Linked DNA regions of Homo sapiens: region 1 is linked to region 2. Evidence: promoter capture Hi-C in human tissues and cell types (Jung and others, 2019). All regions are on one chromosome and are shown on one strand. Each heading gives the region's core, a stretch centred on a gene start or on the middle of the fragment in contact. The rest is flanking DNA. Distances are from core to core; before and after follow the strand shown. Region 1 holds the start of CCR10 (C-C motif chemokine receptor 10). Region 2 overlaps BECN1 (beclin 1).

The links. Contacts are between HindIII fragments. The study calls those that stand out against the background at their distance.
Region 1: the fragment with the promoter of CCR10 here is called in contact with a fragment that was not itself captured in region 2 in 4 of the 25 tissues and cell types used here (dorsolateral prefrontal cortex, lymphoblastoid cells, mesendoderm cells and 1 more).

Annotation. Positions count from the first base shown.
Region 1 is chr17:42,677,503-42,683,353 of GRCh38, reverse strand. It overlaps CCR10 (C-C motif chemokine receptor 10), which reads left to right and starts at 1,511. Exons shown (of 2, transcript NM_016602.3): 1 at 1,511-1,554; 2 at 2,737-4,465. The coding sequence starts at 1,531. The coding sequence ends at 3,801. It overlaps CNTNAP1 (contactin associated protein 1), which reads right to left and starts at 823. Exons shown (of 24, transcript NM_003632.3): 1 at 458-823. The coding sequence starts at 524. RefSeq lists enhancers at 369-418, 679-728, 672-1,290, 2,509-3,357, 3,358-4,206 and 3 more and silencers at 1,829-2,123, 4,800-4,889, 5,240-5,319. The HindIII fragment of the contact is 6,302 bases long and covers 1-3,803 here.
Region 2 is chr17:42,812,758-42,818,001 of GRCh38, reverse strand. It overlaps BECN1 (beclin 1), which reads left to right. Exons shown (of 12, transcript NM_001313998.2): 8 at 1,948-2,094; 9 at 3,329-3,478; 10 at 3,994-4,054. Among named protein-coding and RNA genes, the nearest start is that of MIR6781, 8.6 kb to the left of the region's middle. RefSeq lists an enhancer at 1-222. The HindIII fragment of the contact is 7,607 bases long and covers 1-5,244 here.

The sequences.
Region 1 (5,851 bases), core at 262-2,761, 130 kb after region 2:
ATCAGTCAGGGGCACCAGCTCCTGCTTGGATCCCTGCCACAAAACCCAGCCCCAGCCACAAACCCCAGCCCTAGCCACAAACCCCACCCCTTGGCCAGCTCCAAAGTCCAGCCTTAAGCCCTGGCAAAACCTTAATCCTAGTATCGGTCACCAGTATACACTTATCCCCCAGCCCTAGCCTCAAACCCAGGCACCAGCTCCTGCTTGGATCCCAACCCCAAATCCCTGCCCGCTGACTTCATCCTCTTCCCAGAGCCCAGCCCCAGCCCCGGGCGCGCGCGGCAGCCTCAGAGCTGCAATGCGGAGCGCGGGGGAGAGGCAGGAAAAGATGAGAGCCAGCGGGCGCGCGCCGGCCGGGAAGGACCCGCGACCACCCAGCCGCAATGCGGTTCGGGGCCGCCCTGCAGGCTCTGGACTCCTGGGCCCAACCCCACCTGCCTCCAAGCCCAACACTCACAGTAGCCCCAGCCCTCGGCTCCTGAGACCGCGGCGAGCAGGATGCAGAAGAGCCGGAGATGCATCATGCAGGGCTGACGGTCCCGGCAGCCGCCTCCCTGTGAACGGCTCCGGCTAGGGCTCGAGTTCTGGCTTGGGCTCCAAGCTCTCCTCCTGGGGTTTGCAGCAGACCGCTCTCTCCTCCTTACCCACCCTTCCCTCCCTCTCTCCTTTCGCCCCCAAGCGCTCTGTCTCTCCTCTCTCTTTTCTCTCTCTCTCTCTCTGGTTCCTGGTCCTCCGCTCTTCTCTCTCTATCCTCTCCTTTCCACCCTCTTTCCTCTCACCTCCCCCCTTCCCCAGCCTCTGTCTCCTGGCACGCGCCGGTTTCCCGGACCCCGCGCAAGCGCGTGCCTCAGCCCTGCTGCGAAAGGGCGGGGGTAGAGAGCCTCTCGCCACCGGGAAAACCCCAAGTAACCCGAGGCTGCCCGGGACTAGGGCCACAGGAGTGAGGACAGGGAACCTAGGGCCAGAAGCATCCTGAAAATTTCAAGAAAAGGGAGGTGGTTTGGGGGAGGGGTGCCTGGAAATGGAATGAAGGGTAAGTAAAAGAATCTTAACATTTTCGGAAGGCAAATTATGCTCTAGGAGTGGTGCTGGGCACTGTGAATTTAGCATTTTTGCCCTACTCCACTTTGCAGATGAAAAACCTCAGGCTCAGAGAGGTCAAGAAACTTAGTCAATATCACACAGCAAATGATTATATTCCGAAGCCCGTTCTTTCTTCACTGACAAAGACAGTAAATTATTTTTTCTTTCTTTCGTTCATTCTTTTTTCTTTCTTTCCTTCCTTTTTTTCTTTCTTTCTTTCTTTCTTTCCTCTTTCCTTCCTTTCTTCTTCTTTTTTTTTTTTTCGTAAAATCCAGATCCTGCACAAGAGAGTGAAGTCTTTTGGAGGAGGTGGAATGGGAAAGTGACCCCGTAGACCCTAATCCCCACCTCCCTCTCGGCCCCTCTCCCCGCCTCTTCCTTCCTGTCCCGCTAGTAGTTTAACTTCTACCCCCTGTGGCTATACCTCAGAAACCTGTGTAGCCAGAGATGGGGACGGAGGCCACAGAGCAGGTGGGAGTGGGGGCAGGGAGGGGGAGAAGGGTTACAGAGAGGGAGGAGACAGGGAAGGAATGGGATTCCCCACCTGGCAATGGGCCTCTGCCATCCTATGGCTTATTCAGGATTCTTGGCGCTGTCTCAGACTAGGGGTCCTCCAGATAAATGGGCTGGTGGTGTGAGGCTGGGGTTGTGGGACAGGGACTAGGGCTGAGGGGAAAGGCGGGTTGAACCTAGAGGTCCAGGGTCCCACCTGGGCCCTGAAAACCTGAGTCCCAACCCTGGAGACCCCCTTGGCATGAGTGGTTCAGTGTGCTGGTATTGGAGGTACAGGGAAGGTGGGTATGGAAGGGAAAGAAGAGAAACAGAAACCCACTCCAGACGGAGGTTGGAGTCCAGGGCTCAGGTCTGAGGCAAAGCCTGCATATGGGCATCCTTCCAGGAGAGGGCGCTGCAAAGGGAACTGAAGCTGTAGGATTTATTAATAATACAAACTTTGGGCTGGGCGTGGTAGCTCAGGCCTGTAATCCCAGTACTTTGGGAGGCCAAGGTGGGCGGATCACCTGAGGTCAGGAGTTCGAGACCATCCTGGCCAACATGGTGAAACCCCATCTCTACTAAAAATACAAAAATTAGCTGGGCGTGGTGGTGGGCGCCTGTAGTCCCAGCTACTTGGGAGGCTGAGGCAGGAGAATCTCTTGAACCCGGAGGCGGAGGTTGCAGTGAGCCGAGATCGTGCCACTGCACTCCAGCCTGGGCGACAGAGCAAGACTCTGTCTCCAATAATAATAATAATAAATAATAATAATAATACAAACTTTGTATTATGGCCTTTGGAGAACACAGGTTCTCCCCATCCATTATTTTCCATATTGCCATCTTCACAGCAAACCTTGAGAGGTGGGCTGGTCAGGATTTATAATCTCAACATTACAGGTTAGGTAACTGAGGTCTAGAAAGAGCAAGTGGCTTGCTCAAGGTCACCCAGGAAGCTGGAAGCAGAGGTAGGAGGGGTGCAAGGGAAGCCAAGGCCTGCTGAAGGTGTGCTAGGAAGAGTCTGGAGAAGAGCTTATGTCTCCCCGTGTACTGTTACATCTGGCCACACAGGAGCTCTCAGCTTGGAAGGCAAGTGTGGGCGGGGGAGTTGTGTGGTCAGATGTGTCTCATAAGATCCCGCCTCTCATTTGACCCTCCCAGGTTTCCTGGGGCCATTACTCTGGGGATGAAGAGGACGCATACTCGGCTGAGCCACTGCCGGAGCTTTGCTACAAGGCCGATGTCCAGGCCTTCAGCCGGGCCTTCCAACCCAGTGTCTCCCTGACCGTGGCTGCGCTGGGTCTGGCCGGCAATGGCCTGGTCCTGGCCACCCACCTGGCAGCCCGACGCGCAGCGCGCTCGCCCACCTCTGCCCACCTGCTCCAGCTGGCCCTGGCCGACCTCTTGCTGGCCCTGACTCTGCCCTTCGCGGCAGCAGGGGCTCTTCAGGGCTGGAGTCTGGGAAGTGCCACCTGCCGCACCATCTCTGGCCTCTACTCGGCCTCCTTCCACGCCGGCTTCCTCTTCCTGGCCTGTATCAGCGCCGACCGCTACGTGGCCATCGCGCGAGCGCTCCCAGCCGGGCCGCGGCCCTCCACTCCCGGCCGCGCACACTTGGTCTCCGTCATCGTGTGGCTGCTGTCACTGCTCCTGGCGCTGCCTGCGCTGCTCTTCAGCCAGGATGGGCAGCGGGAAGGCCAACGACGCTGTCGCCTCATCTTCCCCGAGGGCCTCACGCAGACGGTGAAGGGGGCGAGCGCCGTGGCGCAGGTGGCCCTGGGCTTCGCGCTGCCGCTGGGCGTCATGGTAGCCTGCTACGCGCTTCTGGGCCGCACGCTGCTGGCCGCCAGGGGGCCCGAGCGCCGGCGTGCGCTGCGCGTCGTGGTGGCTCTGGTGGCGGCCTTCGTGGTGCTGCAGCTGCCCTACAGCCTCGCCCTGCTGCTGGATACTGCCGATCTACTGGCTGCGCGCGAGCGGAGCTGCCCTGCCAGCAAACGCAAGGATGTCGCACTGCTGGTGACCAGCGGCTTGGCCCTCGCCCGCTGTGGCCTCAATCCCGTTCTCTACGCCTTCCTGGGCCTGCGCTTCCGCCAGGACCTGCGGAGGCTGCTACGGGGTGGGAGCTGCCCCTCAGGGCCTCAACCCCGCCGCGGCTGCCCCCGCCGGCCCCGCCTTTCTTCCTGCTCAGCTCCCACGGAGACCCACAGTCTCTCCTGGGACAACTAGGGCTGCGAATCTAGAGGAGGGGGCAGGCTGAGGGTCGTGGGAAAGGGGAGTAGGTGGGGGAACACTGAGAAAGAGGCAGGGACCTAAAGGGACTACCTCTGTGCCTTGCCACATTAAATTGATAACATGGAAATGAGATGCAACCCAACAACTGTTACTATTTTTGAGTCACCGACTTGGAAGTGATTTGTGGCGGGGCAGAACCGGTGGGTTAACACCCCGCCCCCGCCCCACCCCCCGCCCTGCCCCGCGCTTGGCTCTCTGAGTGGAAGACGCTGAGGGCCTGGGTGGGGGTGGGGGGCTGCTGAGTCTGCTAAAGCTCTAGCCACTGACACCCCCTCCACCGTCACCTGGCCTCAGCCAACAGAGGTGAGGTGGGAAAGCTGCCAGGCAAGGAGGGGCGGTGGTTCCTCTTGCAATACTGTAAGGAAGAGCTTTCTAACAACCAGAGCGCTCTCCAGTAATGGCTGCCTTAGCAAATACTGAGTTCCCGCTATTGGAATGTTCAGACTGTCGGGGACGCTGTGGGCCTTTGCGTGGTGTGGGGGGAGGGGGAGGGGCAGGGGATTCCCGTTTTTGGTGGGCGTTTGGATTTCATAACCACTTTACAATCCCTTCCTAGTGTCTGTGATGGAAAGAAAAAATGAAAAAATGAATTGTAAAATTTGAGTTGAAGTTTTTCCACCTTGAAGAAAAACCTAGGAGGGATTGCAATCTGCAAATTTCCAGAGTAGTTATCACGGGTGTGGTGGGGGTGAGGGATATTTGCTGTTCTCCATCTTCTCTGGGGACTGGGTCAGAGGAAATGCACTGAGCTGGCCGGAAAGAGAGAGGTTGGATATGGGAAAAAACTTCTCTGCAGGCAAGGGCCTGGGATCCAGACCTGGAAGATGGTTGTGGTATCTCCATTCCTAGGTAATCTCTCAGTACAGGCCACTCTCATGTGGAGAGAGGCCACGGCCGAGATGGCCTCCTAGACACGCTCGCATTGATTCCTGGTCTTTGTTTTACACAATCACAACGGGCAGGATGGTGTTCACGTGCGACAGTTCTCGCGGTTTAATATCGGTCAGCAAAGCTGTCCCCACCGCTCCAGCCTGGAGTCTAGGGTCGAGAAGGGCGGGGCGTGGCGAGGAGGTCTCAAGGGAGGTGCTGGCCTGACGGCCCCGCCCGTCCCGCCCTTCCCCGCCCCTCCCCGCCCAGCCCAGCCCTGCCCAGGCTAGCAGTCCTCAGAGCCTCCCGCAGCAGCGGCGAAAAGGGGTCCCCCACGGCCTCTAGGGGCCAGGATCCAGGGAAGGCCCGGAGACGGCGCCGATCCTCAAAGGGTCCCACACGCCAGCCACTGGGGACCGACCTGGAACCCTCCATCCAAGATCTCTGGAATCGCCGCTGAGTCAGCAACGCGCGCGCGCGCCCGCGGAGGCCGCGGCCCCGCCCCGGCCGCCTAGCGCCTGAGTTAACCCCTTCCTATACAGAGCCGCAGGATATTAGCCCTAAGAGGCCTCCACTGTATTCGGAGACCACAGAATTCCTTAGAATCCAAGTCAGTCTCCCCAGCTGAGTTCGGTGAGCTGTGAGCTCTATATTCGATTTTATTTCCGGCCTAGGTCTGCACCTTCCCAGAGTGCCTGCCTCAACTCCTTCACCTCGAAAAGGAGGTGAGGCCGAGTGCAGTGGCTCATACCTGTAATCCCAGCACTTTGGGAAGCCAAGCTGGGAGGATCGCTTGAGCCCAGGAGTTAAAGACCAGCCTGGGCAACATAGTGAGACTCCATTTCTACAAAAAATAAATTTAAAAAATTAGCCAGGCATGGTGGTGTACGCCTGTAGTCCCAGCTCCTGGAGAGGCTGAGGTGGGAGGATCCCTTGAGCCGAGGAGTTCGAGGCTGTAGTAAGCTATAATGGCTCCACCGCACCCCAGCCTGGGCAAGACAGCGAGACCCTGTCTGGAAGAAAAAAAAAAAAGGGTGGGGGAGAGCTGAATCAGACCGAGAAACTGGAGAAACTGGACTCCTTCTCCCCAGACGTGGAGGGCCACCTCCAGAGCTGT
Region 2 (5,244 bases), core at 382-2,881:
TTAAATAGTGCAGAAACCAGAGCTCCAGTCTTGGCTCTGTCCTGTAGGGAATGGGCTCATTTGGATGAATCAGCCACTTTCTAGCCATCCTTAGCTGAAAAGATGAGCTAATTAGCCTACATTTGTTCCCTCCAAGCTTAAACATTTCATGGGGGCCAGGTATGGTCGTTCATATCTGTAATTCCAGCACTTTGGGAGGCCAAGGCAGAAGGATCACTTAAAGCCAGGATTTAAGGCCATCTGGGGCAATATCAAGTGAGACCCCATCTCTACAAAAATGAAAATTAAAAAAAAATTAGGCTGCTGTGGTAGACCTGTAGTCCTAGCAACTACTTAGGAGGCTGAAGTGGAGGATAACTTGAGCCCAGGAGTTTGAGGTTACAGTGTGCTGTGATCACACCTCTGCACTCCAGCTTGGGCAACAGAGTTGAGACCCTGTCTCAAAAAATAAAAACATTATAGATGTCCTTGACCTGAGAGAACCCTCTCTCTAGTGGAGGACACACAGTGTCCATACTAACTGAAGTTGTGGAAATGAAGGATAGAGAAAAGTCCATTTTTTTCACACAGTAGTATAACAAGTTTCACTGGAAGTGGGGTATAGTAACTATTTAAAGGACAGTAAGTGTATAGAAATGAAGCTTTAGAAGGCCAATTATGGCCAGTTCATGGAAGAAGCCACTGTTTTTTTGTTTTTTTTTTTTTTAGAAACAGAGTCTTACTCTGTCATCCAGGCTGGAGTGCAGTGGTGCAGTCATGACTCACTGCGGCCTTGACTTCCTACACCTAAGCAATCCTCCCGCCTCAGCCTCCCAAGTAGCTGGAACTACAGGCGCGCAACACCATACCTGGCTAATTTTTGTATTTTTTATAGAGATGGAGTTTCCCCATGTTGCCCAGGCTGGTCTTGAACTCTTGAGCTCAAGTGATCCACCTGCCTCAGCCTCCCAAAGTGCTGGGTTTACAGGCATAAGCCACCATGGCCAGCTGGAAAAAGCCACTGTTTTTTGTTTTTGATTTTGGTTTTTTTTTGAGACAGAGTCTCACTCTGTTGCCTAGGCTGGAGTGCAGTGGCATGATCTCAGTTGTCTGCAACCTCCACCTCCCAGGTTCAAGCGATTCTCCTACCTCAGCCTCCCAAGTAGCTGGGACTACAGGCGTGCGCCACCACGCCTGGCTAATTTTATTTTTTTAGTAGAGACGGAATTTCACCATGTTGGCCAGGCTGGCATCTAACTCCTGACCTCAGGTGATCTGCCCACCTCAGCCTCCCAAAGTGCTGGGATTACAGGTGTGAGCCACTGCACCCGGCCCAGAAGAAGCAGAAGCCACTCTTTTTTTTTTTTTTTTTTGAGACAGAGTCTCGGCTCTGTTGCCCAGTCTGGAGTACAGTGGTGTGATAGCTCACTGCAACCTCTGCCTCCTGGGTTGAAGCAATTCTGCCACTTCAGCCTCCCAAGTAGCTGGGACTACAGGTGTGCACCACCACGCCTGGCTAATTTTTGTATTTTTAGTAGAGACAGGGTTTCACCACATTGGCCGGACTGCTCTCGAACTCCTGACCTCAAGTTATCCACCCGTCTTGGCCTCCCAAAGTGCTGGGATTACAGGTGTGAGCCACCACGCCTGGCCCCAAGAAGCCACTCCTAACCCATTCACCTCACTTCTGAAAAAGATCAGAAATAAGAGGTTTTTTGCCCTGGTTTGGGAGAATTCTTTTTTCCTCCACCTTTTTGCATATGGGCAGCTGGAATTTGAGACATTTCTGTTCCTTCCAGGCAAAACAGCTAGGACATACATGTTCCTCAGAATGGGATCTATGCCAAATATAAAAGATGCGAGAGCTAGATGTAACGATGATCACTAAAGAATCGTTCATAGTGTGGTGAGAGAGAAACTTTAGCCCCCAAGCTAACAGCCTTCAATGGCCCCCTTGGCTGCTCACAGGTATCAGAGAGAATACAGTGAATTTAAACGACAGCAGCTGGAGCTGGATGATGAGCTGAAGAGTGTTGAAAACCAGATGCGTTATGCCCAGACGCAGCTGGATAAGCTGAAGAAAACCAACGTCTTTAATGCAACCTTCCACATCTGGTAATGAGAGCTAGGGGATGAGGAGCACTGCACATATCTAGACCTTAGCTGTTGACCACTAAGCCTGGGTGCCCACTTCCCACAAAAGAGGGACTGTAGGTTATCTTCACCCAACTAGGTTTCTTTCATTCATAGTGATGGGATAGGCACAGTAGGGATTGGAATTCTAGAGCTTGGTGACATCCGCCCTTCTAAAGAAAGGAAAAGGCCTGAGCCCTTCAGCCACTTAAAAACCTGGTAAGCTGTCTGGTGCTGATTTCTTATCCCCACGGTGTTTGATGTTCCATTAATTTAATAACTGTTGAGTGTCTACTCTGGAAAAGGCACTGTGCTGAGTGCTAGGAGGGCAACAGCAAAACAGTATGCAGTCAACCTTCTAGTTGCATATAATCTGGTGGAAGAGATGGATAAATAACAAGCAGTTGTAATGCAGTGTGATGATGGTAAACCCAGGGTGCTGTGGGAACACATAAGGGCACTTGATCCAGTTTGGGGAGGCCATATGGAGAGTTTCCCCATAGGGGACTTACGTTTAAACTGAGAGGTAAAGTAGAAGTCTGCAGAGAGGGGGTTGTTCCTAGCAGAGAGAACATTATGTGCAAAGAAATGGGAAAGAGGGAGTGGTGAATTCAGAGAACAGAAAGGAGCTTATTGTGACTGAAGATTGAGTGTAAAGGGGAGAGTGGCCGGATATGAAACTGGAGAGTTACCAGTTCCTGAAGGATCTCGTAGGCCTCGTTAAGAGGTTTGGACTTCATCCAAAAGGCAGAGGAGACACTGAAGCATTTTAGCTAGGGAAGTGACGTAATTACACTTGTATTCGTGAATGATGGCTTTTCCTGCACCATGGGGAATGACTTGGGGTAAAGGGGTGGAATCGTTGGAAAGGATACTCATCAGTAGGAATCTAAAGGAAAAGAATAGTAGCATTGAATTTGGAGAAAAGTGGAAAGATCCAAGATATTTAGCAGGTAGAATCAGGAGAGGTTGGCAGTTTTGCACGGAAGGAGCTGAGGGAGCATTCAAGGATACCACCCAGGTTTCTGCTTTGGCATCTGAGCAGCAGGGAAAAAGATGATGACTCAAGTTTTGGACATGTATTTAAAGTGCCAAGTACAGCTTGCATATATGGACTTGAAGATAGATTTAAGCTAGGTTTGGGGTGAGAGTGGGAAATGTCAAACTTTTTAAGTAATCCCTGTATTTCCCCCCACCTTTCTGCCTTCCTCTGTAGGCACAGTGGACAGTTTGGCACAATCAATAACTTCAGGCTGGGTCGCCTGCCCAGTGTTCCCGTGGAATGGAATGAGATTAATGCTGCTTGGGGCCAGACTGTGTTGCTGCTCCATGCTCTGGCCAATAAGATGGGTCTGAAATTTCAGAGGTAGGAAGTGTAGCCCTTTCTTGGGGAGTGATGTGCATTGATATAATTTGTATCTCCAACCTGGTACTGCTGTCCACCATGTCAGGAGCCCTTGCTGCCCACAGACTGGGAGTTTTCTGTGGCTGAAGAGCTGTCAGCATCTGATTTTCCCCTCATCACAGGGCTCTCTCCACTGATCACACAGTCACTGAGTTGCGTGACTATAGCATAGTTCCCAGCCTACAGTCCCCAGAGCCTTAGTGTTCCTCAGGATATTTTCAGTTTTTGTTTCTTAAATTTAAACCAAAACATAACATTTGTTCATGGAAGGCCCCCAGGCAATTATATAATAAATGTAGTTTGTTCATTAAACAAAATCTTTTAAACATGGATTCAATGGGGAGGTGGGAGAGGGAGTTGAGCATAATAAAAGAAGCCCTTGGCCAGAATGAAGAGTGAAATCATTGGGTTGTAACTTCCCAATAATCACTTTGGGAGGAGTCCTGTATCCATCTCTGTTTGTATCTCTATTTTAGATACCGACTTGTTCCTTACGGAAACCATTCATATCTGGAGTCTCTGACAGACAAATCTAAGGTACTCTGTGAAGCTCCATTTTCACTGGAATACAGAGTTCTTATATCTCTTAAGAAAATGGATGGTTTGCTTTGATATTGGCATTCAATTTATTTTTTAGACCTAGATATGAAGAGCCAGTATATTGTTCAATATCTTGTCTAGTTCAGGTTTAGTTTTGGGGGTCTTGTAGACAGAAATCAGGTTTTGACAGTCTGTTGAGAAGGGATATGGGCAGGTCAGAAGAGGGTGTGTGCACTAGGCTAGGAAAAGAATCACCGTGAGATAGATGTTTACAGGTTGAGTATCACCAGAAGTGTTTTAGATTTTGGATTTTTTTTTTCAGATTTTGGGATATTGGCATATAGATACTAAGATATCTTGGGAATGGGACCCAAGTCTAAACACAAAATTCATTTATGTTTCTTCTTCTGAGACAGAGTCTTGCTCTGTTGCCCAGACTGGAGTGCAGTGGCACGATCTCGGCTCACTGCAACCTCCGCCTCCCAGGTTCAAGTGAGTCTCCTGCCTCAGCCTCTGGAGTAGCTGGGATTACAGGTGCCCACCACCAGGCCCAGCTAATTTTTGTATTTTTAGTAGAGATGGGGTTTTACCATGTTGGACCAGGCTGGTCTCGAACTCCTGACCTCAGGTGATCCACCCGCCTCAGCCTCCCAAAGTTCTAGGATTACAGGCATGAGCCACCGTGCCTGGCCTGTTTTATATATACCTGATACATGTAGTCTGAGGTAATTTCATACAATATTTTAAATAATTTTGTGCATGAAACAAAGCTTGTATACATTGAATCATCAGAAAGCAAAGGGCCGGGTGCAGTGGCTCACGCCTGTAATCCCAGCACTTTGGGAGGCCAAGGCGGGTGGATCACAAGGTCAGGAGATTGAGACCATCCTGGCTAACACAGTGAAACCCCGTCTCTACTAAAAATACAAAAAAAAAAAAAAAATCAGCTGGGCGTGGTGGCAGGTGCCTGTGGTCCCAGCTACTCGGGAGGCAGTGGCAGGAGAATGGCGTGAACCTGGGAGGCAGAGCTTACAGTAAGCCGAGATTGCGCCACTGCACTCCAGCCTGGGCGACAAAGCAAGCCTCTGTCTCAAAAAAAAAAAAAAAAAAAAAAAAAAGCAAAGGTATCAGGTATGGAATTTTCCCCTTGTGGCATCATATCAATGGTCAAAAAGTTTCAGGTTTTG